Regions from separate parts of the Homo sapiens genome. Here region 2 is linked to region 1. The links are contacts of gene promoters, found by promoter capture Hi-C in human tissues and cell types (Jung and others, 2019). All regions are on one chromosome and are shown on one strand. The core of a region is centred on a gene start or on the middle of the fragment in contact, and the rest is flanking DNA. Distances in the headings are between cores, read along the strand shown.

The links. Contacts are between HindIII fragments. The study calls those that stand out against the background at their distance.
Region 2: a fragment that was not itself captured here is called in contact with the fragment with the promoter of MPV17L2 in region 1 in 1 of the 25 tissues and cell types used here (hippocampus).

Annotation. Positions count from the first base shown.
Region 1 is chr19:18,188,771-18,195,313 of GRCh38, reverse strand. It overlaps MPV17L2 (MPV17 mitochondrial inner membrane protein like 2), which reads right to left and starts at 2,096. Exons shown (of 5, transcript NM_032683.3): 1 at 1,846-2,096; 2 at 1,280-1,450; 3 at 461-537; 4 at 228-356. The coding sequence starts at 2,032. RefSeq lists an enhancer at 1,952-2,001 and a silencer at 2,392-2,571. The HindIII fragment of the contact is 8,354 bases long and covers 1-6,303 here.
Region 2 is chr19:17,698,254-17,704,211 of GRCh38, reverse strand. No RefSeq gene overlaps it. Among named protein-coding and RNA genes, the nearest start is that of UNC13A, 13 kb to the right of the region's middle. RefSeq lists a silencer at 2,626-2,853. The HindIII fragment of the contact is 6,509 bases long and covers 1,385-5,958 here.

The sequences.
Region 1 (6,543 bases), core at 847-3,346:
TCGGCCTCCCAAAGTGCTGGGATTACAGGCATGAGCCACGGCGCTCAGCCACGGCTGGGTCTTAACTGCTAGTGAGGAGCTCTCCGCCAGCCCACTGTTGGGTGTGGGTTGTCAGGAGCACAGGAGACTCCCACCCTCCAGGGTGGCTGGCTACACTGCCACTTGGAGCTCACACGTGTAGCCCCCTGGGGAGTCCCCTGGGTGCCTGGTATGCCCTCCACACTCACCCGGTACTTCAAGTAGGACAGGTACGTGTCCCAGCCCAGCGTCAGGCCGTTGATGTAGGTGACTCGAAATTGGGGGGGCACGAAGAGGAAGTTCACGAACTGCGCAGCAGGCCACACGCACCAGTCTGCCTGCGGGGAGAGGCGGGGGATGAGGGGCGGGGCCAGAGCTGGGCGGGGGCGGAGCGGCCATCAGGGGGCGGGGCCGGACATGTGCAAGGGGCGGGTGCTCCCACCTTGTAGAATTCCCAGAACTTCTCCCGCAGCTCCTGGCAGCTCTCACCCACTGTCTGACCCTCCAGGCAGCCAAGGCCTGGGAAGCAAACCAAGAAATGAGAGTGTTAGAGGCCAGGAAGTACTGTTGAGACGACAAGATGGGCTGACGATGGAGGGGGCGGGGTTGGGCCCCTGAGAGCCCACGCCGCCCACCCCGGGCAGAGGGACAGGGACTTTCAGATGGGATGGACAGAGAATTAGGGTAGCTGGTGTAGAGACAAAACAGAGCAAGTCAGTCCCAGTGAGAGAAAGAGAGGTTATAAACATATAAACACGTGCCCCAATGGAGACACCCTGAAGTTGAGGGAGTTGTGTTACTTTTCCATCACAGACCAGGAAGCCGGGCTGGGAGGTGGAGAATGAGAGACTCCTCTATTAATACCGCTGTCTTTACCGAGCCTAGGGCTGGCACGGTTGCACCCCATTAAGTCTAGCCTCAATTTCTCTTCCTTCAGGCCTCAGAGCCTTTGCATTAGCTGTTCCCTCTGCCCGCTGGTTCCCTCTTCATGTCTCAACTGAGTGTGGTCCCCTTCTTTGGGAAATGCTCTCAACCTCCCGCCCAGGGCAGCCCCAACAGATACAGTCCTCGTCCCTCCTACACTCGCCAGCGTTCACATCGGCCGAGTCCGTCCTGTCCCCGCTGTGACCTGGCTCCTAGTCCAGGGCGACCCAAACAGGGGGCAAATTGGAAATGCACCTCTGCATCCTTCTTAACACAAAGCTGGCTCCACCCCTCCCGACCTATGAGAGGCAAAGCCTAGGCTTAGGAGGCTCCTTACCCAAGAAGTACCAGACGCCCAGCAATGGAGAGGCTACCAGCTGATCCACGAGGACCTTCTTGAGGACATTTGGGAAGCCTCGGAGGCCAGACGCAGGGAATAGGCGGTCCAGCGACAAGTACCAGTAGTGCAGGAAGGGACCCATGCTGCAGCCCACCGCAAACATGCTCGCTATAAGAGTGTAAGTCAGGGGGCTGGGTCGGGCCGGCAAGTTCCTCAGTCCATTCCCTCTCTCCCTCCCTGGCTAAGGCCTGGGTAAGCCCAATGCCATCCCGGAGCCTCAGCCTCACCGGGAAAACCGGAAGAGCCCACCCGTGCATTCTTCCACTACAAGCCCCACCAGGAGGCGCGGCTCCAGAGGCTCCTGGGTAGTGGGCAGAGACCTCCGGGGGTTGGGAGGTGATGGAGACCCAGAGCTGCGGGGAGACAGACACCCGGGGAGAGGCGCGGTCAGGGCAAGGGTCCTGCGGGGGACTGAGGCCACGGGTCAGGGGTCACGGCCCGCAGTCGGGTGTCGGGATCAAAGGTCGCCCGGGGTGAAGGACTAAGCAGCGTGGCGTCCTCACCGGAGCGCCGTGGGTCGAAAACCTGGCCGGGCCGGGCGCGGATCTCCCAGGACTGGCGCACGCCATCACCGGCCGCCATGAGCGCGCCGCAGCCCAGCGTGTTAGTGACGAGCAGCGCGCGGCCCTGGAATAGAAGCTGCCCCGCGGATAACAGGCGGCGTAGCCGGCGCCAGCCACCCCGCGCCATCGCCCTCAGGAACCAAGGAACCGGCGCGCCGCTCTGCTTTCGCCGCGCCGACCAGTCGCGAGTCACTGTCGATCCCAAATTGCCCGCCCCTCCGGCTCCCCGGCCAATCGCATAAGGATCTTCAGTCCGCAGGTCCGCCCCGAGCCGCGACGCGTTCACCAATCGCAGGCAGCCTCGGGGAGCCACATTGCCCGGCCCGAAGAGTATTGACCAATAAAAGGCAGGCGTTCTATCCCAAGGTCGAGCCCCCAACGACCTCCCGAGCTTCACGGACCAATCGGAAAAAAGAATTGCGTTACGTCCCGCATGCCGATTGGTAACGTTGCACTCTTGTTTCCCCGCCCCTTTCTGTGCCAGCCTATGGGAAACCGTCGCAGCCCCGTCCTACCGACACGCCCAGGACGGCACTGGCCAGTCGCAGACCGGCGTCACGCTGGCAAATCAGTGACCGTCGTCCCGCCTCCCGCGTTAGGGTTGGTCAATCTTAGGCAGTTACAACGCCTTCTGGCCTGGTTGCCCTACGTATTTCCAGATTCTCCTGGACTTAACCAGAAGGGATGTGATCTGTGGCCAGAAACAATTATATCCTAATTATACCGTTCCCGTAGGGAACAATTATTTTTTTTCTTTTTTTGAAATGGAGTCTCGCTCTGTCACCCAGGCTGGAGTGCGGTGGCGCGATCTCGGCTCACCGCAACCTCTCCCTCCCGGGTTCAAGCGATTCTCGTGTCGCAGCCTCCCAAACAGCTGGGATTACAGGCACGGGCCACCACGCCCAACTAATTTTGTATTTTTGGTCTAGACAGGGGTTTTGCCATGTTAGCCAGGCTGGTCTCGAACTCCTGACCTCAAGAGATCCACCCGCCTTGGCCTCCCAAGGTGCTGGGATGATGATAGGCGTGAACCACCGTAACTGGCTTAAAAAATGATTTTCAATGGAAATCCCTATGCATTCTCTACTAGAGTCGCAAACTACTGCCTGTGGGCTGTTAACTGTTGAAGGTGTGCAGGTTCTTGGCATCTTGAACAAAGAATTGGACAAAGTGCACAAACAAAGCAAGGAAAGAATGAAGCTTAACAAAAGCAGAGATTTATTGAAAACGAAAGTACACTCCGCAGGGTGGGAGCCAGTGGAGCATACGGACTCAAGAGACCTGTTTAAGAATTTTCTGGGGTTTAAATGCCCTCTAGAGGTTTTCACTGGTTACTTAATGTACGTCCTATGTAAATGAAGAGGATGAAGTAAAGTTACAAAGTCATTTACTGGATGTATGCCCTCTTTAAATGGAGAAGATATTTCCTGTCATAGCTGAATTGTTTCCATTTGATTTGGCCTTATGTTCCCTGCCTCCAGACCTATTCTCCTGCCTCAGGGCCAAATCCTGTCCCTGCCTGTTTTGTGCTGCTCATGATGAGCTAAAGGTGTTTCTTACATTTTTTAAATGGTCAGTCAAGAAGGTGGGGATTGGCCAGGCGCAGTGGCTCACGCCTGTAATCCCAAACAGTTTGGGAGGCGGAGGCAGCTGGATCACCTGAGGTCAGGAATTCAAAACCAGCCTGGCCAACATGGTAAAACCCCATCTCTATTAAAAATACAGAAATTAGCCAGGGGCGTGGTGGTGGGCGCCTGTAATCCCAGCCACTCGGGAGGCTGAGGCAGGGTAATCTCTTGAACCCGAGAGGTGGAGGTTGCAGTGAACCGAGATAGCTCCAGTCTGGGCCACAGAGCGAGACTGTCTCAAAAAAAAAAAAAAAAAAAAAAAAAAAAGGCTGTGCCTAGGGCCGTGGTCACTCACGTTTGGCTCAGAATTAACCTCTTTAAATATTTTACGGAGTTTCTTTTTTTTTTTTGAGAGAGTCTCGCTCTGTGGCCCAGGCTAGAGTGCAGTGGCGCGATCTTGGCTCACTGCAAGCTCCACCTCCCGGGTTCACGCCATTTTCCCGCCTCAGCCTGGCGAGTAGCTGGGACTACAGGTTCCCGCCACCAAACCCGGCTAATTTTTTATATTTTTAGTAGAGACAGGGTTTCACCGTGTTAGCCAGGATGGTCTCGATCTCCTGACCTCATGATCCGCCCGCCTCGGCCTCCCAAAGTGCTGGGATTACAGGCGTGAGCCACCGCGCCCGGCCCATATTTTACAGAGTTTCACTCTTTTTGTCAACAAATGGCATGATTGTGTTTCAATAAAGTTTTACTTATGGACACAAATTTGCATTTCATATAATTTTCAGGTCATAGAATAAGCCAAACGTCATTGAAACACAATCATGCCATTTGTTGGCCTGTAAAAAGTAAAACTGAAATATGGCTTTTTTTTTTTTTTGAGACGGAGTCTTACTCTGTTGCCCAGGCTGGAGTGCAGTGGCACAATATCAGCTCACAGCAACATTTGCCTTCCAGGTTCAAGCGATTCTCCTGCCTCAGCCTCATGAGTAGCTGGGATTACAGGCACCCGCCGCCATGCCTAGCTATTTTTTGTAGTTTTGTAGAGACGGGGTTTCACCATGTTACTCAGGCTGGTCTTGAACCCCTGATCTCAAATCCACCTGCCTCGGCCTCCCAAAGTGCTGGGATTACAAGAGTGAGCCACCATGCCCAGCCTACAATATGGGTTTTTACAACAAAAATTTGCCCAGTCAGAGGACACCCTTCATGGTTTTCTGATTTTTTTTTTGAGATAGAGCCTTCTTCCTTCCTTCCCCCAATTTAAAACTTTTATTTAAAGAAAGGTTTTGTTTTTTTTTCCTCTTTAGTAGAGACAGGGTCTCACTATGTTGCCCAGGCTAGCCTTGAACTGTACTGAAGCAATCCGCCCACTTTTGCATCCAAAAGTGCTGGAATTACAGGCATGAGTTACTGAGAATAGATAAAATGACATGTCCCCCTGGGCAATAGGAGAACAGTGAGTTTCGTAAAGTGGGACAAATAAACAGAACAATACAAAAAAAACCTGATCAATGCCGGGCGAGGTGGCTCAGGCCTGTAATCCCAGTACTTAGGGAGGCCAAGGCGTCCGAATCATGAGGCCAAGTGATTGAGACCAATCTGGTCAACACGGTGAAACACCGTTTCTACTAAAAATACAAAAATGAGCTGGGCACGGTGGCACACGCCTGTAGTCCCAGCTACTCAAGAGGCTGAGGCAGGAGAATCGCTTGAACCCGGGAGGTGGAGGTTGCAGTGAGCCGAGATCTCACCACTGCACTCCGGCCTGGCAACAGGGCGAGACTCCGTCTCAAAAAACAAACAAACAAACAAACAAACAAACAAACAAACCACTGGGTGTGGTGGCCCCCACCTGTGATTCCAGCTACTCCGGAGGGTGAGGCAGGGGAGTCGCTTGAACCCTGGAGGCAGAGGCTGCAGTGAGCCGAGATTGCGCCACCGCACTCCAGCCTGGGTGACAGAGCCAGACTGTCTCAAAAAAAAAAAAAAAGAAAAAGAAAGTGGGAGTTGAACAATGAGAACACATGGACACAGGGAGGGGAACATCACATTCCGGGACCTGTCAGAGGGTGGGATAGGGGAGGGATAGCATTAGGAGAAATAACTTCTTTTTTTTTTTTTTTTTTTTGAGACGGAGTCTCGCTCTGTCATCCAGGCTGGAGTGCAGTGGCGCGATCTCGGCTGGCTGCAAGCTCCGCCTCCCGGGTTCACGCCATTCTCCTGCCTCAGCCTCTCCGAGTAACTGGGACTACAGGCGCCCGCCACCACGCCCGTCTAATTTTTTGTATTTTTAGTAGAGACGGGGTTTCACCTTGGTCTCGATCTCCTGACCTCGTGATCAGCCCGCCTCGGCCTCCCAAAGTGCTGGGATTACAAGCGTGAGCCACCGCACCCGGCCAGCATTAGGAGAAATACCTAATGTAGATGACCGGTTGATGGGTGCAGCAAACCACCATGGCACGTGTATACATACCTATGTAACAAACCTGCACCTTCTGCACGTTCTGCACATGGATCCCAGAACTTAAAGTATAATAATAGTAAAAAAGAATTCAATGTAGATGTATGGATTTGGTTCTGGGTTCTCCATTCTGTTCCATTTATGTATGTGTCTATTTTTGTGCTGGTACTATGCTGTTTTTGTTACTGTAGATCTATAGTATAATTGAATGTTGGGTAATGGGATTCCTCCAGTTTTGTTCTGTTTGCTCAGGATAGTTTTGGCTATTCAAGGTCTTTTGTGATTTCATATAAATTTAGGACTGTTTTTTAGAACTGTTCTTTCTGTTTTGTGTGAAGAATGTCATTGGTATTGTATTTTGATGGAAATTGCATTGAATCTGTAGGTTGCTTTGTGTAGTATGGACATTTTGACAATATGGATTTTTCCAATCCATAACTACAGAATATCTTAAAAAATAATAATAATAATAAGGCCGGTGCGGTGGCTCACGCCTGTAATCCCAGCACTTTGGGAGGCCGAGGTGGGCGGATCATGAGGTCAGGAGATCGAGACCACAGTGAAACCCCGTCTCTACTAAAAATACAAAAAATTAGACGGGTG
Region 2 (5,958 bases), core at 3,390-5,889, 490 kb after region 1:
GGATTAAATGAGTGCTTGTAGAGTTCTGTTCCATGTCTGGCACACTGCAGGCACATGTCAAATAAGTTAACCTCCGTCAGAGGGTCACAGAGGGTCCCTGGTTCCCCTCTGCTCCCAGCCCTGGGATGGCCTAATGGCTTATGCTGCCCCCAGCTGGCCACTCTGGGAACTTTGGGCTGAGGCCCCCTCTCTGAGTCCGGAACCTCGCCTCCATTGGGTCTGAACCTATTACGTTCCTTTGTCTGCCTTTATTTCCTGCCTCCGTCTCCTCCTCTTGACCAATCCAATCACTTTTGTTTATGATCCATCCAATCCCATCCAACCACTCCAGGCCCATCCAGTCATTTTGCAGCCTAGTGTTATTTCCACCCTACATCCCTGCAGGGCAGGGCCTGGAACTTTCAAAAGATTGATGTTGCCTTTGTCCCATTTAATTCTCTGGGAAACCATTATTATTAATTATTATTATTATTATCTGTTGTCGTTGTTATTGTTGTTGTTTTTGAGACAGAGCCTCACTCTGTTGCCCAGGCTGGAGTACAGTGGCGCGATCTCGGCTCACTGCAGCCTCTGGCTCCTGGGTTCAAGCGATTCCCCTGCCTCAGCCTCCCGAGTAGCTGGGATTACAGGCGCCCGCCACCACGCCCAGCTGATTTTTAAACTTTTAGTAGAGATAGGGTTTCACCATGTTGGCCAGGCTGGTTTTGAACTCCTGACCTCAGGTGATCTGCCCGCCTTGGCCTCCCAAAGTGCTGGGATTACAGACTTGAGCCACCGCACCTGGCAGAAACCATTATTTTTTATCCTCATTTTATAGGCGATAAGCCAAGTTTGCCCTCATCGATTTCTCTGCCCCAGGCAGCCTGACAGCTACAATTAAGTTCAATAAGAGGTCCAATCTCAGAGCCTTTGCACACACCCTGCCCTCGGCCAGGAATGTCCTTCCTCCAATTCCCTGTGCTGAGCGAGATCCTCCTTGCTCGCTGGACCCTTGACCTTGGCAAAGAAGGAGCCGCAGAGAAAAAAGGGCAAGAGAAGATACAGACAGCACCGGCATAATTAAGTGGAGGGATGAGAAGGCTCAAATCAATAGCTTTGGAATTAGCTGAGCTGTTGGCTGGAAGAAAATGGGGCACCAGAGCTTAAAAATTAATTGGATCCGAGTGCTCAATGGTGAACGTTGAAATGCCCCTTTCATCATTATGATTATTATCATCATCATTATTATTATTTTGAGATGGGGTCTCACTCTGTTGCACCCAGGCTGAAGTGCAGTGGCGTGATCTCGGCTCACTGCAGCCTCTGCCTTTGAGGTTCAAGTGATTCTCCTGCTTCAGCCTCCCAAGTAGCTGGGACTGACTACAGGCAGGCGCCACCACGCCTAGCTAATTTTTTTTTGTATTTTTAGTAGAGACGGGGTTTCACCATGTTGACCAGACTGGTCTGCAGCTCCTGACCTCAGGTGATCCGTCCACCTTGGCCTCCCAAAGTGCTGGGATTACAGGCGTGAGCCACCACACCTAACAGAAACGTCCCCTTTCAGATCAGCGCGAGATGGGCAAGGGTGTGGATCCAAACTACGTTCATTGAATGAATGAACGATTACACAGACGTCTGCATTGCAGAAACGGCCTATTCTGAGAGTTACTCCAGACCCACTTCACGTCCCAGCCTTGTCCCCCTCCCCCGCCCCGCTGCCTGCTGCCCCAAACTCTCAGGAACTCAGTCTCCCCATCTATAAATGAGCACTTGACTGTAATCCCAGCACTTTGGGAGGCCGAGGCGGGTGGATCACGAGGTCAGGAGATTGAGACCATCCTAGCCAACACGGTGAAACCCCATCTCTACTAAAATACAAAAAAAAAAAAAAAAAAATTAGCTGGGCATGGTAGTCCCAGCTACTCGGGAGGCTGAGGCAGGGGAATTGCTTGAACCCAGGAGGCAGAGGTTGCAGTGAGCCAAGATTGCGCCACTGCACTCCAGCCTAGTGACAGAGTGATACTCCATCTCAAATAATAAATAAATAAATAAATAAATAAATAAATAAATAGGCACTTGAGAGAAGAAGAGGAGCACCTATGGTAAGCCCAAGGACACTGAATTCCATGTTCCCTGCAGGTAGCATTCCTGCTGACCTGATAACAGGGACTGGCGTTGGGCATGGACAGAGTTGTAAAGGGTGGACCCCTGGGTGTGATGTCTTGGCTTTGATAGTCCTGGAAGAGCAGGGTGTCCCTTGACCTTGTATCTATGCCCTTGCCCCAAATAGCCACACCTCATTGCGTGTTGTCGACTATCCCATTGGTGTCTCCAGCCTGCATCTCCCCAGAGCTCCAGGCCTCAGTATCCAATGGCATTGGATATTTCCACTGAGTGCCTTGCAGGCATTTCACACTCACAAGGCCAAAACCTGGCTCTTAGAATAGTTACTCGCCCTGAGATCTGCCCCTTCTCCATCCTGTTGGTGCCTCCACTATCACACAGTAGCCTGGGTCCTGATTCCTGGATACGCTCTTTATTTTATTTTATTTTATTTTTTTTGAGATGGAGTCTTGCTCTGTTGCCCAGGCTGGAGTGCAGTGGCGCCATCTCGGCTCACTGCAAGCTCCACCTCCCAGGCTCATGCCATTTTCCCACCTCAGCCTCGTGAGTAGCTGGGACTACAGGCGCCCGCCACCATGCCTGGCTAATTGTTTGTATTTTTAGTAGAGACGGGGTTTCACTGTGTTAGCCAGGATGGTCTCGATCTCCTGACCTCGTGATCCACCTGCCTCGGCCTCCCAAAGTGCTGGGATTACAAGCGTGAGCCACCGCGCCCGGCCCTCTTTATTTTATTTTTTTAAGAGACAGGGTCAGCCGAGCGTGGTAGCTCATGCCTGTAATCCTAGCACCTTGGGAGGCTGAGGCAGGCAGATCACTTGAGGTCAAGAGTTCAAAACCAGCCTGGCCAACATGGTGAAAACCTGTCTCTACTAAAAATACAAAAAACTAGTGGGGCGTGGTGGCGGGTGCCTGTAATCCCAGCTACTCAGGAGGCTGAGGTACAAGAATCGCTTGAACCTAGGAGGCGGAGGTTGCAGTGAGCCGAGATTGTGCCACTGCACTCCAGCCTGGGCAACAGAGGGAGACTCTGTCTCAAACAAACAAAACAAAACAAACAAACTAAAAAAGAGACAGAGTCTCACTCTGTCACCTAGACCCAGGCTGGAGTGCAGTAGTGCAGTCATAGCTCACTGCAGCCTCCATCTCCTTGGCTCAGGCAGTCCTCCCACTGCAGCCTCCTGAGTAGCTGGGACTACAGGCACACACCACCATGCCCAGCTCATTTAAAAATTTTTGTAGAGATGGGGTCTCACTCTGTTGCCCAGGCTGATCTCAAAATCCTGGTCTCCCTCAAGGAATCCTCCCGCCTCGGCCTCCCAAAGTGCTGGGATTACAGACATAAGCCACTGCACCTGACCTGGACTCATTCTTGTCCCTTCTCTTTCCTTACCCTGCATGTTCAGTGCATCAGCAGGTCCTGCAGTCTCCGGCTCCAGAATGAAACTGAGCCTCCCTGAGCTCCTAAGGGGCCTGCTGTATCTTGTGTGGATGCTGTCCTGGCTCCCTGCCACCTACACTCCTGCCCCCAGCCATCCTTGCTCCCCTAGGGAGCCCCAGATGGATTCTTAAAATCATAAAGCAGGCCGGGAGCGGTGGCTCACGCCTGTAATCCCAGCACTTTGAGAGGCCAAGATGGGCAGATCACGAGGTCAGGAGATCGAGACCATCCTAGCTAACATATGAAACCCCGTCTCTACTAAAAATACAAAAAAATTTAGCTGGGCGTGGTGGTGGGCACCTATAGTCCCAGCTACTTGGGAGGCTAAGGCAGGAGAATGGCGTGAACCCGGGAGGCAGAGCTTGCAGTGAGCCGAGATCGCGCCACTGCACTCCAGCCTGGGCGACAGAGCGAGACTCCATCTCAAAAAAAAAAAAATCATAAAGCAGATCACGCCCTTCCTCTGCTCAAAGCCCTCCCGTGGCTCCCTATTACCCTCATAGTATAGCCCACACTCTTTCCTGTGATCAGGAGGCCTGGCATAGTCTGTATCCCTGCTGACCTGCCCCCCTCCCCGCCCCCGACTCCATCCCTCCCTCACTCCCTCCACCACGTACTGACTCACTCATGTTTATGGAGTGCCCACAGTGTTCTGATTCCGTTTTCCGTTCAAGGTGGTCACTCCCTGCCAGTGCAGTTGGGGGCATCAGAGAGAGGTCTGGGGGTGGGGAGACACGGGTTAGAACAAGACCTCAGTGGCCACTTAGGCTTGGGCTGGAGTCTCAGCCCTGTCTTGCAGAGCTGAACCCCCATCTCTTCTTCCTTCTCAGTCACTCTCTCTCCATCTCTCTGTCTGTCCATCTCAGAGTAAATTCCAGAGCCTTCTCCATCCCCTGCCCTGAGGCCCTGAATGACCTTCCCCCGCAGTTCCCTTTCTCTCTATTCTTCTTCTTCTTCTTCTTCTTCTTTTTTTTTTTTTTGAAACAGAGTCTCGCTGTTTTGCCCAGGCTGGAGTGCAGTGGCACAATCTCTGTTCACTGCAACTTCTGCCTCCCAGGCTCAAGTGATTCTCCTGCCTCAGCTTCTGGAGTACCTGGGACTACAGGCGTGCACCACCACCCCTGTCTAATTTTTGTAATTTTTTAGTGGAGACGGGGTTTCACCATGTTGGGCAGGCTGCTCTCGAACTCCTGACCTCAGGTTATCTGCCCGCCTTGGCCTCCCAAAGTGCTGGGATTACAGGGGTGAGTCACCATGTCCGGTCCCCTTTCTCTCTTTTCCTCTCTCCCCCTCACTCATTCACACAAGCCTTCTCGGCTTCTCCAACACACCAGGCACAGCCTCACCTCAGGGCCTTTGCACCTGTCCTGTGAATGCCTGTCCCTCATCTCTCTCCCTGCCTGGCTCCACCTCTTTTACATCTTGGCTCTCGTGTTGCCTCCTCCGGGAAGCAGATTCCCCCACCCCTTCCATCCCTCTCTGTCACCAGACCCTTCCCATCGCCTCATAATCGTCCTTGACTTCCTCTGCCTGCTTGTTCATTCCCACTTCCCATGCTAGGGACAATGTCGCCTGGCAGAACCTGGTGACAAGCTTAGTTCCCAGCATCCAGATGGCACCAGCAAACGCTGGCTGAACAAATTGACGTCTCATCGGTATCCGTCTACTCCATGGAGCTTTGCACAGTGCCAGGAACATCAAATGCACCCCGTAAGGACTGGGAATTTATCTGAAGACCAAGCAAGTTTGCCTTGGATTGGGGCTGCTAGAAAAAGCTCTGCCCAGCCGGGTGCGGGTACCTTATGCCTGTAATCCCAGCACTTTGGGAGGCCAAGGTGGGAGGATTGCTGGAGCCCAGGAGTTCAAGAGCAGACTGGGAAACCCGATGAAACCTCATCTCTACAAAAGTACAAAAAATTAGCTGGGGCCGGGCGCGGTGGCTCATGCCTGTAATCCCAGCACTTTGGGAGGCCGAAGGGGGCACATTGCCTGAGGTCAGGACTTTGAGACCAGCCTGGCCAACATGGTGAAACCCCTTCTCTACTAAAAATGCAAAAAAAATTAGCTGGGTGTGGTGGCGTGCGCCTGTAATCCCAGCTACTCGGGAGGCTGAGGCAGGGGAATTGCTTGAACCAGAGAGGTGGAGGTTGCAATGAGCCGAGATTGCGCCATTGCATTCCAGCCCGGGCGACAGAGACTCCATTTCAAAAAAAAAAAAAAAAACTTAGCTGGGCATGGTGGTGTGTACCTGCAGTCCTGGCTACTCAGGAGGCTAAGGTGGGAGGATCACCTGAGCCTGGGGAGGTCGAGGCTGCAGTGAGCCGTGATTGTGCCGCTGCACTCCAGCCTGGGCGACAGAGTGAGACACCATCTCACAAAAAGAAGAAAAAAAGCTCTTACCATTCATTCTCCATTCA